3 separate regions of the Homo sapiens genome follow, and all the other regions are linked to region 2. Evidence: promoter capture Hi-C in human tissues and cell types (Jung and others, 2019). All regions are on one chromosome and are shown on one strand. Each heading gives the region's core, a stretch centred on a gene start or on the middle of the fragment in contact. The rest is flanking DNA. Distances are from core to core; before and after follow the strand shown.

Evidence for each region. Contacts are between HindIII fragments. The study calls those that stand out against the background at their distance.
Region 1: a contact is called between a fragment that was not itself captured here and the fragment with the promoter of HOXD13 in region 2, in 1 of the 25 tissues and cell types used here (bladder).
Region 3: a fragment that was not itself captured here is called in contact with the fragment with the promoter of HOXD13 in region 2 in 1 of the 25 tissues and cell types used here (aorta).

What each region holds. Positions count from the first base shown.
Region 1 is chr2:175,469,199-175,472,848 of GRCh38, forward strand. It overlaps LOC105373752 (a long non-coding RNA gene), which reads left to right. Exons shown (of 3, transcript XR_923596.2): 2 at 463-595; 3 at 2,023-2,110. Among named protein-coding and RNA genes, the nearest start is that of ATP5MC3, 290 kb to the left of the region's middle. The HindIII fragment of the contact is 4,319 bases long and covers 117-3,650 here.
Region 2 is chr2:176,091,071-176,095,247 of GRCh38, forward strand. HOXD13 (homeobox D13) reads left to right here and starts at 1,651. Exons shown (of 2, transcript NM_000523.4): 1 at 1,651-2,601; 2 at 3,410-4,177. The coding sequence starts at 1,821. The coding sequence ends at 3,660. The HindIII fragment of the contact is 2,672 bases long and covers 1,584-4,177 here.
Region 3 is chr2:175,572,825-175,577,011 of GRCh38, forward strand. No RefSeq gene overlaps it. Among named protein-coding and RNA genes, the nearest start is that of ATP5MC3, 390 kb to the left of the region's middle. The HindIII fragment of the contact is 6,681 bases long and covers 1-4,187 here.

The DNA.
Region 1 (3,650 bases), core at 1,026-3,525, 620 kb before region 2:
TTACTTTACAACACATAATTGATCTTGTGCCCATGAATAGTTAACATTAATTATGCACAATTAGCATATGATAATGAATGACACACGTTTCGAGCAAATATTAGACAGCATAATTATACTATTATTGCGTTCAGCTATGCAGATTCACAAAATATGATGGTGTGTTCATCTCTATTGAATCCATTTACCTGGACTAAAGTGATGACTTAAAAATGAACACAGTAGAAAATAAATGCAGGTAAGTCAAATACTGTTAAGCACTAAAGAATATTTCCAAGCGGCAAGAGCTGAAGGTCGGTAGACCAGTTCTTTTGCTTTTAGCTAGCAGGATATTTTAGATGCACATTGTAGGATTTTGGAGCTCAGTTTAAAAATCCTTCAGAATTCAAGGGTTGTTTTATGTAAAGTGTTCTGACAGGCAAAATGATTCCTTTTTAAACATAATTCACCTCTGCTCTGCAGGCCTCTTGTGGAGAACAAAAACATCTATTCAGAGTAACAACTGTTTTTGGTATGCACAGAATTTAAGGTGCTTAAGAAGATGGGAAGCCCTACAACATTATGCCGTTGGTCTAAAAGCACCAGATGAAATCAGGTGAGAGAAATAAGGCTTGGAGAAATCCTCTCACTGGCTAGAATTATCAACAATAGCTTGACTGTCTTTTCAAGTGTTCTTTCATTATGGCACTTAATTTTTTTTCAAGTAAAACAAGATAAACAAGTAGGCTGTGATTGAACTTTGACTTTCTAGTTAAGAATTCGCTATTTGAAGAGTCTATTCGCCTCACAAAAATGAGACTTCCTTTACAAAGAACCACAAAAGCCCAAAGTAAAGATAACCTTATATTTCCCAGATTGTGAGCATAGAAAATTATTCCGAGTCGTCACACAAACCAATTTTCGCACCTGGACTTGATCCAGGTACACGGCTGATAGAGACACACTCTGCCCTCCTCCTCCTCTCTTTTTTGTGTACTCATATTAACTTTGAGGAACCCATCTTGAGAGCTCTTGGCTGACTTCTATTTTAAGAACCTAGTTCAGCCATTATAATTAGTCCCTAGTTTGTCTGGAATCCTCTCGGGCATTCAAACTGTTCCAAGATCCTAAATAAGTCCTTTTCAGAATTTTCCACTGGAATATCCCTAATGGCAGAAGAAAGTCAACTTACCTTTGGGGGCCTGGGTCCCTAACTCAAAATGGAAAATGCTATTGAAGTCCTTTATTTTGCCATAAAGAAATAGAAAGTTCTGTATACACTTTGTGTTTTTCCATATAATAGATCTGAATTGTATTTTATTTTTTAAAACCGTTAATATTTTAAATTATTTATCATTGAGTAAAATGGATGGTCCAGGATGATACACTGTGCCTATAGCTTTGAGCATTCCCCAGCACACTGTTAAGGCGTGCTCTGAGGTACCAGTTCTCAGAATGGAGGCCTAGTCTGTTTCATGGAAAATCTTTTCATAAAACAAGCTTATCATTAAATATTTGCAATTGCAAACAATACTGCAAAGCAAGTGTTCATCAATAGGGAACAGATGACATTTTTTGTTGTGCCGCATCCAGACAGTGAATATCATACAACTGTTTAAAAGGATAAATACCATCTATTGTATTGTCAAGTAAAGATGTCCATAATGTAGTGTCAAGGGAAAAAGTTACAGAATGATATTATAGGGTGATCCCATTAATATATTTGTACAGTGCTTTTAAAATCTTTGTATGGAATAGGGTCTGGGAAAATTTCACTTTCCATGGGAATGCATTAATTATTTTGCACCAACTATGGATTATTGCAAATCTAAAACAACTTACGTAATCCCATTTTGAAAAAAAAGAAAAAAGCTTTGCACAGATTGTACCTGTGGTAAACCTAAACAAATACAAACAAACTCTCTAGATTCAGTTTTTTCATGGGAAATTTGTATAATCTTAACACTAGAAGAAAAGACAAATTGTAGTGTTCTGTACAAATTAGGAGTTTTTCTTTTGAGATGGTCTTACTCTGTTGTCCAGGCTGGAGTGCAGTGGCATGATCATGACTCGCTCCTTTTGGGATCAACTGATCCTCCTACCTCAGCCTCTGGACCAGCTGGGACCACAGGTGAGTACTACCGTATCTGGCTTTTTTTTTTTTTTTTAGAAGTTCGGCCTCACTATGTTGCCCAGGTTGGTCTTGAACTCCTGGGCTCAAGCAATCCTCCTGCCTTGGCCTCCCAAAGTGTTGGGATTATAGGTGTGAGCCGTTGCACCAAAAATAATTCCAGCCAGGAATTCTTTTTGTAGTACTCTTGATGAATTGTTATAAGGATTCATTTTGAATATTTCATCTGATGGAACACTGAGGTCATGTAGAAGAGGACCAAGAAGAAAACAAAAATTTACCCTATTCCTACCATGCAGAGACAACTCATAGGTCCTTTCTCATGTTGAACCGAATCTGGGCTCCTCTTCTCAATGGTCCTGGTTCTCTGTTCTAAAGATGGATTTCTAATAATGCATCTGTGCTCCCTCTTCTAGGTAACAGCCTCCGAACAGGTAAACGCAGATTGTACATTTCTCTTCAGTCTTCTCTAAATTAAGCAGAATTGACCTTCAAATATTCCTTAAAGCACACAGTTTCCTTTTGAGGCTTATAAATTTGACATTGCTCATCTTAAAGCCTGCTCCCAAATGATTGTGACCTTGTAACTAAGGTTTGACCATCATGAACAGTGATTGTCACTCTATATCTGTGGATCTAATTCAAAATGGAAAATTTCTTGGAAGTCTTATATTTTACCACATTAGTCTATGTATCTGTATTTTTAATTTAAAATTAATATTTAAAATTACCTAGTGTATTAGTCTGTTCTCAAACTGCTATAAAGACATACCTGAGACTAGGCAATTTATAAAGGAAAGAAGCTTAATTGACTCACAGTTCACTTCCACATGGCTGGGGAGGCCTCAGGAAACTTATGATCATAGTGGAAGGGGAAGAGGCACATCTTACATGGCAGCAGGCGAGAGAGATCAAGCAAGAGCAGGGAAAACTGCCTTATAAAACCATCAGATCTCATGAGAACTCATTCACTATCACAAAACAGCATGGGGGAAACCACCTCCATGATCCAATCACCTCCCACCTGGTTCCTCCTTCCACACATAGGGATTATGGGGATTACAATCCAAAATGAGATATGGGTGGGGACACAGAGCCAAACCTTATCACTTACCAAGTAACATGGATGGTTTAGAAAGCCATACTGCACCTATGGTTCTGCATATCCCCTAACAAACTGCCATGATGCCATCCTAAATAGTGCGCTTTCAGAAGGAATTGCCATAGAATTTTTGCCATATTGTCATTAAAATAAAATTCTCTAAGTACAATGTCATTCTCATAATCATCCAGACGTTTGATACATATCAATTCTCTACTGCATACAGCTAGGTGCTGGGATACCATGAGAACCTGACCATCTCAGTTTCTGCCTTCACAGATGTTTTTTCAAGGGAGGGATACAGAAAAGTGAACAGGTAATTAATTACAAGGCAGAATGTGAGACAGTATGATGAGCTATAGGGGATCACCTATACACTATGACGATCTTGTAGGGGATCACCCAATAGGTGCTCAGAGCTCAGAGGCAGCTTCCTGG
Region 2 (4,177 bases), core at 401-2,900:
CAACACCCCTCTCATAACTTTCCCCTTTATTTGAGCCTTTTATGGTTACTGCGTTTTGCATGTCAACACTCCTAACACCAGCAGCCTACCCTGAAATGCCAGGCCAGGCCAAGGAGGGCCTTCCTGGCTCTCTTCCTCATCTTACTCAGGGCATCTTTGGTCGGGGAACAGTGGTGCTGGGTGACAAGCTTTCACCAATCACAGGCTTAGGGGAGTGATTTTCTTGGAGATGGGCTGGCTTGGGGAGTGCATGCCACAGAACCAAATGGGCTCTGAAGGATCCCATATCCACCCCCAGAACCCTGGGCTCATTGGATCTAATATTGTTCCTAAGGCAGAGCCCCAAAGTCACAGCAGGACTCTCATTGGTGCCCCATTAGTTGCTGAGATTGAGGGATGGTGGGCTGGAGCTCTGAGGCTGAGGAGCAACAGAAAGGGATGATGAGGGACAGGGCTGTAATCCCTAACACCCTGGCAGCTTGGTTCCAGAGCTGGACCTAGCCCCACCAGCACTGCCCTGAGCCCACCTAACCCCTTGAAGTCAGACCGTTTCTCTGGGCTGCTCCTATCACAAAATCCGAATTTGCTTGGAACAAGCGCCCTCTTAATTTGCCCCTCTCAGTTCTCTGCAGTTGACAGCTTGGAAAAGGAAGCGAAACAAAGGTCCCTGGGAAAGTGAAGTTTTCAATTAATTTGGTGTGAGAAACGGGCGGGAGTGGGTGGTGACTGCAAAATGCGAGGCCGGTCGGCTGCTGGAGAGACACAGAAGTTTCACGGTGGGAGGCTGAGTGGCTTTCTCCCCCGGCGCCGTTCTCAGGGTCTTTCTGCGGGTCGAAGAAGGACCCGCGGGAGCTGAGAGGCCCAGGTCGGAAGCACTCCCGGCTGGCCCAAGAGTAGAGGCGAAGAGCGTTGAGTAGGCATCCATGGACTTTTCTTTCTGGGACAGATTGTCAGGCTCACTGCGCCGATGCCTGTCTTTCATCTGTTTAAGTCTCTGCCGCCAGCCCCAAGGGCGCTTCATGGGCATTTTCCGAACGGACAGCGTGTGTGTATAGGAAGGGTCTGCTCCAATGCCTCTTACCTGTGTGAAATGCCTTTGCCGGGTACCAGTGCACAAGGTAGGGCAAATTAGCTCACTCGGATTTGGGGTCTAGAAGTCGACTAACTGAGGGATTCAGCAACAGGATAAAAAAATGGGCCTGTTTTCACATCATTCTGATCATCTCTGTCCTTCGTCTTCATTTTGCTGTGCAACTCGGGGAGCCGAGGAGAGGTGGCAAAAACAGCGGTTGCCGAGACAAGGCGCAGGCCTTGGCGCCCGCCTCAGTCGCAGACAGGGCCTGGGATGGGCCGTCGCGCAATCAACTCGTGGGGGTGGCTGCAGCGCGTACGCCTGGGTCGGGGGGGAGGGCGGGAATGGGAGGTGGACCCTGCAAGGGGCAGGAGAGGGGTGGGGGCCGGAGTGGGTGGGTCCAGCCAGGCCTGGGCCGGGAGCCAGGCTCCCCCGCGTTCCTACCCCCACGTGGCCGCGCGCAGCCAATGGCACGCCCCCGGCGGGGGCCCTCGGGGCGGGAGGCGGCCCCCCGACCGGCCCAGGCCCCCTCCCAACCTGAACTTCGTTTTTATAAACGTCCCGCGATGAGCTAACCTGTTGGAGGGCAGGCGGGCCGGAGGCGGGAGGCTCACAGAGGGAGAGAGGGCTAGAGGAAGAGGGCGGGAGCGAGCGAACCAGAGAGAAAGGAGAGGAGGGAGGAGGCGCGCCGCGCCATGGTGTCCTGCGCGGGGCCAGGGCCAGGGCCGGGGCCGGGCCAGGCCGGGCCATGAGCCGCGCCGGGAGCTGGGACATGGACGGGCTGCGGGCAGACGGCGGGGGCGCCGGTGGCGCCCCGGCCTCTTCCTCCTCCTCATCGGTGGCGGCGGCGGCGGCGTCAGGCCAGTGCCGCGGCTTTCTCTCCGCGCCTGTGTTCGCCGGGACGCATTCGGGGCGGGCGGCGGCGGCGGCAGCGGCGGCTGCGGCGGCGGCGGCGGCAGCCTCCGGCTTTGCGTACCCCGGGACCTCTGAGCGCACGGGCTCTTCCTCGTCGTCGTCCTCTTCTGCCGTTGTAGCGGCGCGCCCGGAGGCTCCCCCAGCCAAAGAGTGCCCAGCACCCACGCCTGCAGCGGCCGCTGCAGCGCCCCCGAGCGCTCCAGCGCTGGGCTACGGCTACCACTTCGGCAACGGCTACTACAGCTGCCGTATGTCGCACGGCGTGGGCTTACAGCAGAATGCGCTCAAGTCATCGCCGCACGCCTCGCTGGGAGGCTTTCCCGTGGAGAAGTACATGGACGTGTCAGGCCTGGCGAGCAGCAGCGTACCGGCCAACGAGGTGCCAGCGCGAGCCAAGGAGGTATCCTTCTACCAGGGCTATACGAGCCCTTACCAGCACGTGCCCGGCTATATCGACATGGTGTCCACTTTCGGCTCCGGGGAGCCTCGGCACGAGGCCTACATCTCCATGGAGGGGTACCAGTCCTGGACGCTGGCTAACGGGTGGAACAGCCAGGTGTACTGCACCAAGGACCAGCCACAGGGGTCCCACTTTTGGAAATCTTCCTTTCCAGGTAGGGGCGATGGAGAAAAGGGACCGACACGAGGGAGGGGGAGAGAGAAGGAGAAAAGAAAGGACTAAGAGTATGCGCCCCTACTTGGGAGTGGGAGTTGTGCCTGTGCTCCACACGTGACCAGGGTTAACCCAGTGGAAATTTGTCCAGTTCGTGTGAAATCTGTAAATTCCTCCTCTGATTTCAACTGCCTCCGTCACTGCCCTTTCTTTCCTGTGTGCAGCGCAGACACGTTTTTCTCCTAAAGTTGAGAGTCTCTGCGTGCCCTTTCCTTGGGCCTCTCCCTTTTCTCCTAAAGAGAACTTTTTCCTAAGAAACCTGACAGAGTTGGGTCCCCCCATTTTCAAAGACATCACTGCCCCAAGATGACTACTAAAGCTTGTTAGATCAAGCTCACGAACTCCTAACATAGGAACGCGGGAAATCAAAATTTGAGCAAAAGACCTGAGTTGGTATGTGTCTATGTATGTAAGTTTGTTTTTATACAACCGACATTTGCAGAAACTGTCCTCATGAACGTGCCCAATAACCACACCATAAAATTGCAAGCTTGTTAAGATGCCGGTTTGAGAAACTATGATAATCAATCAAATTAACCATTGTTGTTAAGTGCAAATAATCCTTCTTTAATAACAGGTAAGTGTTATGTCTATGTACATAATAAAGACCAAACAGCATGGCATTTTTTAAAAATTTCCTGCACCCCTGCAAACGCACACACACACACACACACACACACACACACAATCCTCAGCTAGGTGCTCCGAATATCCCAGCCTAATTTTTCTTGTGCTTTTGTTTGTATCAGGGGATGTGGCTCTAAATCAGCCGGACATGTGCGTCTACCGAAGAGGGAGGAAGAAGAGAGTGCCTTACACCAAACTGCAGCTTAAAGAACTGGAGAACGAGTATGCCATTAACAAATTCATTAACAAGGACAAGCGGCGGCGTATCTCGGCTGCTACGAACCTATCTGAGAGACAAGTGACCATTTGGTTTCAGAACCGAAGAGTGAAGGACAAGAAAATTGTCTCCAAGCTCAAAGATACTGTCTCCTGATGTGGTCCAGGTTGGCCACAGACAGCTTAGAAGCCATTCGGTTGTCTCCAAAAGGCCTTTGGAAAGACTTGAATATGTATTTAATTCCCCCCACCCCCTGCCAATGGTGGCAAATTTTGTGAATTGTTTTTCTCTCTTCCCCTTATCTGGCTCTAAAACCTTCTGCTGCCCAACCTGACTTTGTAGTTCTGATTTTTACTTGTTTATTATTGGTTTTGTTCTTGCCTAGGGTTTTTAAAATATCTGTTTTTAATGTTTTGTTTCTCCCTCCAGGCCAGTATAAAGGGACTTGAAGTATTTTTTAATAATCCGCCCCCCAATGAACTTCAGAAGTGCCATTCTGATTTAAGGGTTTTTTTAAAAAATTACTTTATTTGTTCATTCCCAGCACTGATTATCTTCATAATCCATTAGGACAGAATGGTTTTCAGTCGTTCATATCCTGTAATTAGGTAATTGAATCATTAGCTCTCAGCAGTTGCCCTGAGGCAAGTGGAAAGGCAGGCAGTGCTCTGGG
Region 3 (4,187 bases), core at 1,384-3,883, 520 kb before region 2:
AGGACCCACATGCCCTGGTTATGGCCAAGTTTCTGCTCCACAGTGGACACACCTTCAAACTTTTCTAGTGAATGTGCCATAGACAGACTGAATCAGACAGGAAGGCAAGGAATGGTGCCCGATAACTTGTTCCAGGCAGGCAAGTCAATGTGCACAGTGAGTTCAGCTGATAAGAATTTATTATGGAGAATTTACCCATAGCCCACTTCTCTGAAAGGATTTAAGATGACACATCATAAGCTTTAAAAAACAAATTTTTAGAAAGGGACTGAAGGAAAGGGGAAATTGGAGTATAGAAAACCAGAGTAAGCTCTAACATTTGTTACACTGAGTGCAAAATTTGTCTATGAGCTTCTCGATAGCCAAAGTAAAAAGTGTAGCCAGTCACGTGTTAAGAAAGGTGATAGCACATTCTTCCAGGAAGCCAAAATATTTTGACATTAAATTCTGGAAGCTATGCCTTACATAAGGAAATCTATGGGGCTACTTCTCATTGATATATGACAAGAAATCTGTCCTCTGTAAAGTTTCTTTTAAACTTTCCAAACATCTCAACCAAACTAAGGAGGTAAGAGAACTATTAATCCCAAATCCAGAAAAGAAAAGTAGAGAATGTCCCAAGAAGCAGCTAGAGAAAGATAGGAGGGAGGAATGGGGAGCTGGTGAAGATAGATTCAGGCTGCTACAGAATTAGAGGCAGCTTTGACTGTTGATCTCTCCTGGCCTGTTTCTTACAACAGCAATGGAACTAAGAAAAGTCTGAAGAAATGCATACATGAAACTCAAATATAATAGGAGGTAAACTACTCAACAATCCAGTAACTATGGTCAGTTCACGTTGGCAACTGGAGAGCTCTACATGGGAACAACAATCTAATTGTACTCATTCATTTATTTATTTATTTATTTTGAGACAGAGTCTCACTCTGTTGCCCAGGCAGGGGTGCAATGACACGATCTTGGCTCACTGCAACCTCCACCTTCCAGATTCAAGCGATTCTCCTGCCTCAGCCTCCAGAGTAGCTGGGATTACAGGCGCCCACCACTCTGCCAGGCTAATGTTTTGTATTTTTAGTAGAGACGGGGTTTCACCATGTTTGCCAGACTGGTCTGGAACTCCTGACCTCAGGTGATCCGCCCGCCTTGGCCTCCCAAAATGCTGGGATTACAGGAGTGAGCCACCGTGACCGGCCCTAATTGTATAATTTTTGATAATGAAAAATATCTAAAGAGTATCTATCATAAGCTAGTAGGGAAAAGAACTGCTTAATGTTTTTCAAGAGGTTGTATTTACATATAACCGGATAATGCACAGCAAATTTCCACTGTACCACTGGATTTACCTCTTAAATTTTGGTTATAAATATCAAGACTCCACTCTGACTTCCCCATCTCCGTACTTGGTGCTTGAGTTCAGGTTCCCAGCATTTCTGTTCAGATCTACAACAGTAGTCCCCAGTCTTCAACCTGCTGGTTCAAATCTCTGGCCTTCCTACTATCCTTCAGAGACACAAATCTTGTCATGTTGTTCCTGAGCTTAAAGTCCTGCAGGCAGCATTTCTCAGAGAGGCAAAGAAAGCTCTGCATGACTTGGGCTTTGGCCCCTTTCCCAAATAAGACTTTAGGTTCTGTCTTGCTGCGGTTCCCCAACCTGCCCCCTTTAGCCCAGCTACTTGGAACCCCTTGCAATACTCCTTGTGGACGATGGCTTCTAATGTCACTATGTCCTCCCTGCACATGCCTGGAAGGCCTTCCTGCAGGGCTTTCTTGTCAACTGGCATTTATCCTTCAAGACTCGAGATTTCAACACCACCTCTTCTCTAAGAGTCTCTGACACTTTCCAAGCTCCTGGATCCAACTTTCTAATAGTAGTCATATAGTATTATAAACAAATATGAGACTGTGCATTTGAATTGAGCTTTCAGTTCATTGTGAAGAGACAGGGTATAAATACTGAATATTTCTAATATAGCTCTCCTAATCATGGGTGTCAGAGCTTATTAGCTGTTCCAAGTCCTCAGGTAACTTGACATAGCCAAGAGGACTTATTCTGTAAGGATCAGAGGAAGTATCAGCAGCGTTTCCAGTCTGGTCATTTCTTGGTATGTTTGATACTTCAAAGAGATTAATTGCAGCTATGTGACATTGGGCAGGTTGTTAACCTCTTAAGCCTGTTTCCCCTTTTGTAAAATGGGGATAATTAGAGTACCTTCCTCATAGGATTGTGAGGATTAAACTATCTAACATCTACAAAGTTCTTAAAACAATGCAGGCACATAGTAAGAGCTACGGACTGAATTATGTCTCACCAAAATTCTGATGTTGATGCCCTAACTCCCAATGTTGACTGAATTTGGAGATATGGCCTATTAGGAAATAAGAAAGGTTAAGTGAGGTTATAAGGGTGCCACCTAGATCTCATGGGATTAGTATCCTTAGAAGAGACCATTTTTTTTCTCTCTCTCCTCACCTCCCTCCCTCTCTTTTTTCTCTCTCCCTCCTTCCATCTCTCTCTCTCACATACACGTCTCTCTCTCTCTCCTTCCCTCCCTCCCTCTCCATGTGAAGACACAGGGAGAAGGCTGTCATCTATAAGCCAAGAAAAGAGCCCTCACCAGAAACCAAATCAGCTGGCACTTTGATCTCCAGAATTGTGAGAACTAAGTTTCTGTTGTTTAAGCCACCCCGTCCGTGGTATTTAGTTATCGCAGCCTGAGCAGACTAAGGCAGTAAGCACTGGCAAATCTAGTCACTGTTGTTGTTTTTTTTTTATTCACTATCATATGTCTCCCACCAAAAGTGTCTCAAGCTCTTCTAATGGTCTTTGGGTGTTTTTTCTTTGCTTAGAAAACTATCAAAGCAAAAAAAAAAAAAAAGAAGTCAATCAGGCCTTTTTATTGCTATGGTTTCAAAGCGAAATTTAACACTGGGGTTTCTAATAGTGGAAATGACCATATGCAGAGCAGCCCGTGTCATGCTTCTTTCTTGAGGTTTCCAGCTTGAGACCATCAGGCGGGTGATGAAGGTTTTGGTTTCCTGTGCAGAGCAAAGTGCCCCAGCTGACGGCAGACTATTCTTTCAATTTTGAATAAAATGAGTGGAAGATATCTGAGAAATTCTGCTCTTTCTGCTTGAGTGAATACCTGTCATGCTTCTTACATCTACTGAAGCAATTAACACACACAAAGCTATATTTGCTAAGCCAGTGCTCCCCAACGGGGGTGTTAGCTTATACCGGTGAATAGCAAAGACCTCTCTGAATTTTTCAGCAAGTTAGCTTTTCCCTGAGCTCCTGTTCAGACAGCCACGGGGCAACTCCTGCATATCTGCTTGGCACCCTCCTCCCTGCTCTCTTCTCTTTCATGTTTACTTTCCCCACAGTTGGAGCTTCCGGTTTTCACCTGTAGACCCAACCAGACCTTGGCTCTGCTACAGATTTTATCCCCTACCCCACGCCCAACAGAGGCTTTGAGTAGCCCAGGGGCTCCCAACCCTGGCTGTGCATTAGCATCACCTGATGGAGCCTCTATTTTTTTTGAAACAGGGTCTTGCTTGCTCTGTCACCCAGGCTGTAGTGCAGTGGCTCGATCTTGGCTCACTGCAGCTTCTACCTCCCAGGCTCAAGCAGGCCTCCCACCCCAGGCTCTGGGGTAGCTGGGACTACAGGTACACACCACCAGGGGCAGTTAATTTTTGTATTTTTTGTAGAGACAGGGTTTCACCTGTTGCCCAGGCTTGTCTTGAACTCCTGGGCTCAAGTGATCCACCTCCCAAAGTGATCTGGTAGAGCTTTAAAAAAACCACTGAAGCCTAGGACCAACTCCATGACAATTATAGGAGAATCCAGTGGCTGAACATGGACAGTGATGACTCAAATATGTGGACCAAAGTTTTAATCTCCAGGAGCAGGCCGAGTTCAGAAGCTCAGCTTCACTCTGATCTTGCATTCCAGTTCTGCTCTGGAACCTCATCTTGTTTCCCAGTTTGAGTAACTGCTTCTTAGTCTCATACCTCTGTGCCTGATTTATCAGCCTGCTAACCAGGATTTTGTTCCCAGTTCTTTTGGAATGGGCCCTTTCTTATTATTCTTACCAGCCATCAGTCTCCCCCTCTCCAGGACCAACAGGGTGTTCTTGAACCCCCGTCCTTATTGAGATAATGTCCAGCTGCCAAATCTTTCTTGGCAG